Regions from separate parts of the Homo sapiens genome. Here region 1 is linked to region 2. The links are contacts of gene promoters, found by promoter capture Hi-C in human tissues and cell types (Jung and others, 2019). All regions are on one chromosome and are shown on one strand. The core of a region is centred on a gene start or on the middle of the fragment in contact, and the rest is flanking DNA. Distances in the headings are between cores, read along the strand shown.

What was found. The method cuts DNA at HindIII sites, captures the fragments that hold promoters and counts their contacts. A contact is called where the count stands out against the background at its distance.
Region 1: a fragment that was not itself captured here is called in contact with the fragment with the promoter of ZNF600 in region 2 in 2 of the 25 tissues and cell types used here (small bowel and spleen).

Annotation. Positions count from the first base shown.
Region 1 is chr19:53,072,936-53,075,809 of GRCh38, forward strand. ZNF160 (zinc finger protein 160) reads right to left here. Exons shown (of 6, transcript NM_001322131.2): 4 at 2,122-2,248; 5 at 1,205-1,333. Among named protein-coding and RNA genes, the nearest start is that of ZNF160, 29 kb to the right of the region's middle. The HindIII fragment of the contact is 9,128 bases long and covers 1-2,874 here.
Region 2 is chr19:52,785,273-52,788,169 of GRCh38, forward strand. ZNF600 (zinc finger protein 600) reads right to left here and starts at 1,519. Exons shown (of 6, transcript NM_001321866.4): 1 at 1,323-1,519. RefSeq lists enhancers at 479-1,337, 1,338-2,195 and a silencer at 1,528-1,677. The HindIII fragment of the contact is 28,786 bases long and covers 1-2,897 here.

The sequences.
Region 1 (2,874 bases), core at 375-2,874, 290 kb after region 2:
ACTGGAATATGATTTTTAAAAAAATTCTATATTGACAAATTATAGTTATATATATTTACAGGAAACAAACTGATATTCTGTTATAGGTATACAATATGGACTGATGGAAACAAGCCTATTACCATATAAGTCATCTCAAAAACCTATCATTTACTCCTAATGTTTTCACCCAGTGACCAACATCTCCCTATTCCCTCCAGTCCCCAACCTGTGGTAACCCACATTCTACTCTTTGCTGCTATTAGTTTTATTGGTTTAGATTCCAAATGTAAGTGACAACATGCAGTACTTGTATTTCTGTGCTGAAGCCTGGAAAAACAGAATACGCACCCCATGTAAGACTGAGGATCAATGACAGAAGGATTTTGTTAGGTGTCTTTACGGTTATGCTGAGAACAATCTTAGAAGATAGAACCCACTCGCTTATCACACACCCCCATGAAAGTGGCAAAAGCAGAATGGAAGAAATGGCCGAGGGACCTCGACAGGCGGAGACGGCTGGAGACTCTTCCATGAGGTTTGGGGCAGCAGATGCCAAGGAGCAGCAGCCAATGTTTCCATCTCCTGAGCAGGTCTTCCACGCACAGGAAATGGGGTGGAACATAAACAGGTCTAGACGTCAGGACTAAGGACTATGGAGGCTTCCCCTCTGACCCATATGGACTAAGAACTGAGCACCATATGGAATTAAATACAGAGGGAGAGACCAAGAAAGAAAGCAGTTTCTTCAGAAGGAACCATAGAGTTCAAATGACAGGGTGTTGTCCATCATGATAAAGACTTTGCCTCTATCTCTAAGGCAACTTATTTTCCCAAAGAACTCTCTCATCTGCAGAGAGTTTCCCACTTTATTTATTTATTTATTTTGAGACGGAGTTTTGTTCTGTCCACCCAGGCTGGAGTGCAGTGGCATGATCTTGGCTCACTGCAACCTCCACCTCCCGGGTTCAAGCAATTCTCTTGCCTCAGCCTCCTGAGTAGCTGGGACTACAGGCACACGCCACCATGCCCGGCTAATTTTTTTTTGTATTTTTAGTAGAGATAGGGTTTCACAATGTTGGTCAGGCTGGTCTCGAACTCCTGACCTCAAGTGATCTGCCCACCTTGGCCTCCCTAAGTGTTGAGATTACAGGCGTGAGCTACTGTGCCCCCTCCCACACTCTAGTTAATGAGTGGCCTTCTCTCTGCCCATCTGAGCTCTTACCTGTGACCACGCCTTTGACACATTCCGGCGTTCTTGGTTTTCTTGCTATTTTCACACAGCTCTTCACAGTCCAGGGCTCTTTCCCTTCCTCCAACATGGAGATAATATTCATATCAAAATGACACAGTCCTGTTTATAAAAAGAAAGGATCACAATGTGCCGGGGCTTTTCCAGAATCCCAGCCCTATGTTTACATGAGAGGACATTATATGTGGATCTAAGAAAACTTCAAAAATTCATCCACTGGGCCAGGCGCGGTGGCTCATGCCTGTAATCCCAGCATTTTGGGAAGCTGAGGTGGGTGGATCACAAGGTCAGGAGATGGAGATCATGATGGCTAACATGGTGAAACCCTGTCTCTACTAAAAACATAAAAAAAAATTATCCAGGTGTGGTGGCGGGCGCCTGTGGTCCCAGCTACTCGGGAGGCTAAGGCAGGAGAATGGCATGAACCTGGGAGGCAGAGCTTGCAGGGAGCCTAGATCACGCCACTGCACTCCAGCCCGGGCGACAGAGCGAGACTCCGCCTCAAAAAAAAAAAAAAAAAATCATCCACTGAATGCCTCCTTCTGAATACCCAGGAAACATGGTACATGCTGATAGAAGGCTCTATTCCACCAACAACTTAATCCAAAGCAGAGAGGTAGAAAACAGGAAATCTGACATTTCAAAAGTCTAACACAATGTATTATGCATACAAAAGCTCTGAAACCTCAAATGATGAAGTACAAAGGAGGCAGAACATCTGAGAAAGGGGAAGATTAAAGTCCAGGTTTCCCATGATTAAGCTTTCCATTTCAGAGTCAACAGGACTTCAATCTCAGTCAAGCAATGCAGGGGCTCTCCAGGGACTCGTAAGGGAAAATGCAACAATAGACAAGAACAGATCTTGACTTCTGGAAGAAAGTCATCCTCACCCAGAGAAACAAGGTTCCAGTAGTTCTCCAACATCACGTCCCTGTATAAGATCCTCTGAGCAGGGTCCAGGCATTTCCACTCCTCCTGAGAGAATTCTATGGCCACATCCCTAAATGTCAACCGTACCTAAAATGAAAAACACATTTCACCAAGTGGCTAAGGGGAGAGTTCAAAATTTCACATAAAAGGAGAAGAGGAGAAAAATGTGAGAATAGGTTAAATTGAAGTGGGTGAGCTGACAGATCCAGATTGTGACAATGTGACATACAGATTTGGTCTTCATCCCCCTCTCCTGACATAAGAGCTCACTTGAAATCAGTGGAGTGATAAGTATCTTTTTGTACATTAATGGGATAATTGGTGTCTGGAGCACCTAGGTAGCTTCAGGATGGAGGGCGGTCACCGGAACTAAGGCTCGGTGGGTGGTCACTGGAAAGGCTGAGGCTCGGTTAGACTAAGCCTCTGTCCTCTCGGGAGGACAGAGGGAATGAAAGTTCAGTTGATCACCAATGCCAATAATGGAAGCAAGGCCTCCATAATGGGGCCTCCATGAAAACTCAAAAAAGACAGAATACATGAGAGAATACATCCCAGCTCCTCACTCCTTTCCCATATCTCAACTAATAGATCACTTCCATCTAGATGTTCATCTGTGTGCTTTGTAGCATCTTCTATAATAAATGGGTAAATATAAGTGTTTCCCTGTGTTATGTGAGCCACTCAAGCAAACTAATCAATTTCAAGGAGGGGGT
Region 2 (2,897 bases), core at 269-2,768:
GTTTCACTCTTGTTGTGCAGGCTGGAGTGCACCGGTGCGATCTTGGCTCTCACCGCAACCTCTGCCTCCCAGGTTCAAAGGTTTCTCCTGCCTCAGCCTCCCTAGTAGCTGGGATTACAGGCATGTGCAACCGCTCCCAGCTAATTTTATATTTTTAATAGAGACGGGGTTTCTCCCTGTTGATCAGGCTGGTCTCGAACTCCGGACCTCAGGTGATCCACCCGCCTCAGCCTCCCAAAATGCTGGGATTACAGGCATGACCCACAGCGCCCGGTCCTTATTTAACCTCTTGTTGTTCTTTCTCCCCAATCTTTCAATCTTCCTCAATGTCTATATATTACAGCCTCTTCTCTTATCTCTCCGTCTCCTCTGCTCTCCCTATTAAATTCTCTCTTCCCTGTTATACCCCTCTGTCCCCACTCTCCAGCACCTCAGATCCCCAGGTGTCCTCCCTGCTGTGGTTCTCCATCTGTTCTTGCCACCAGCACCACTCTGCTCTGTCTGCCCTGGCTCCAAATCCCTCCTCCTCTCCCTCACTCTGGTGAGCCTCCCTCTTTGCTGCCCCTCTCCCTACCTTGCTGTCCTTCATCTTTCTGTACATCTAGCTTTTCTCTACATTTCTCCAGTTGCTTTTCTCCTCCTGCTTTCTTAGTTTTTTTTCTTTCACTTTTGCTGTCTCTTGGCAAATTCCTAACCCATCCTCTACTTTGCCATCTGTTATGGGCCTTTCTCATTCTTCTTTTCTCTGTCTCTGGTTTTCTACTGCTCTCTCAGTCCCTCTCTCTATCTCCTGATCCCTTTGGCCCAGGCGGGTTTGGAGTAATCACAGGCGGGTTTGGAGTAAGACGCCTGCATCCCGTAGAAGCGCATTTTCCAGGGGGTGGAGCTGGACAGGAAAGAACACCTGGTATCATAGGACAAGCCCCTGCGACCCACCCCAACCCTGGCTCAGGGGAAGCGAAGACTTGGGGAGCAGCAGGGCCCGGCACCAGGAGGGACGTGGTGGGCGACGGCACCCTAAGACAAAGGTGGGACCTGCAGGATCCCAGGACCAGGCAGAGGACGCAGCCTCCCCGGGGCTGGGGCCGGGGCGCCGCGCTCCAGGTGCCAACTGGGGCGAGGCTGGGAGGCGCCCAGGGCTGGAATCCACCTCGCGGGTGAGGACTTTAAAAAGCACGGGGCGGGAATAGTCAGAAAAATGTTTTGAGCAGGAAAAATACGCGATAGGAAGTGTATACATTGCCCTATAGCAGAAAGACCGGGGACGGGACCAGCCTCCGAGCGACTTCAAACCCAAAAGCAAGCAACTTCCAGACTCTTACCGGGACGTCTCAATTTGCTCTGGGTGAAGGGAAGACAGGCGAGAATTTCCAGGTCCGTGGGGATCCCACGTCCCAGGGGCAGAAGCGCCGGGGACCTGGGAAGTGCAGACTTAATCCAAGGCAGAGCAAAACTCACGCGCCGTGGTAGGACCTTCACTCCACGCGATCCGCTTCCGGGTTTGTGCGCGCCCAGGACTGAAGCCAGGCCGGGGCAGGTTGGCTGGACCTGGGCGGGGTAGAGGCGGGGCCCCAGGCGGAGAGACCTTGCCCTTTAGAACCGGCAGAGGGAGGGCCCGGGGCGGGACCTGTGCTTCTCAGCCTCGCACTCAGCGCCTCTGTTTTTCGAGTTTTTGGAGGCGACAGCGGCCAGGAAGGCTGAGGCATGATTCAAAAGCCCTGGAATTATCTGGAACGGGAATGCAAACTAGAATGTGAAATGCAAAGCCCTGCCAGGGCGGAACATACGATTTCATGCTGATGGCCCACAGAACAGAACAGAAATCCTCTCCCTTTCTATTCTCCATTCACTCAGGAGGGAGGGTCCACCCCGTGCTCAGCTTCAAAGTGTTCCCTAGGGCCTCCGCCTGGGATGCGGGACGGAGAGCTCAGGCCAGGGAGGAGTGAGGTCACCACCTGCTGCCTAAACACAGCAGGGATGCGGGCACGAGGCGGAAGCCTGAGGTCCCAGCTACTCAGGAAGCAGCGGCGGGAGAATCCCTGAACCTGGGGGTCCAGGCCATCCTGGGCGACAAAGTAACACCCCCTAACTGCAGGGTCCTCTTCCTGATCTCTCTCTCGCTCTTTTACTTTTTTTTTTTTTTTTTTTTTTTGAGACGGAGTCTCGCTGTGTCGCCCAGGCTGGAGTGCAGTGGCACGATTTTGGCTCACTGCAAGCTCCGCCTCCCGGGTTCACGCCCTTCTCCTGCCTCAGCCTTTCGAGTAACTGGAACTACAGGAGCCCGCCTAACCCAAACAAAAACAAGACCGGGCGCGCTGGCTCACACCTGTAATCTCAGCACTTTGGGAGGCTGAGGCGGGCAGATCATGAGGTCAGGAGATCGAGACCATCCTGGCTAACACAGTGAAACCCCATCTCTACTAAAAAATACAAAAAAATTAGCCAAGCGTGGTGGTGGGTGCCTGTAATCCCAGCTACTAGGGAGGCTGAGACAGGAGAATGGAGTGAACCCGGGAGGCGGAGCGTGCAGTGAGCCAAGATCGTGCCACTGCACTCCAGCCTGGGCGACAGAGCGAGGCTACGTCTCAAAAAAAAAAAAGAAAAAGAAAAAGAAAAAGAAATATCTCCCCTAGTTTGTCTCCTTTTCCAGAATTTACCAGATACCAGTACACAGATACCAGTGCATACATTAATGTATGACTTTCATACATAGATTCTCTGATCTGATCCACAAAGAGCTAAATGTGCATCCAGATGTGGCCCCTGAACAATCCCTGCTGCCCAATATCACTGACACCTTGGGGTCCACACCCCATCTCCATCCATCTCTGGTGTGAGCCCTTCCCAGGACCATGCCCAGTGCAGCCTCTTCCCAAGCTCATGTCACTAGGTTATAG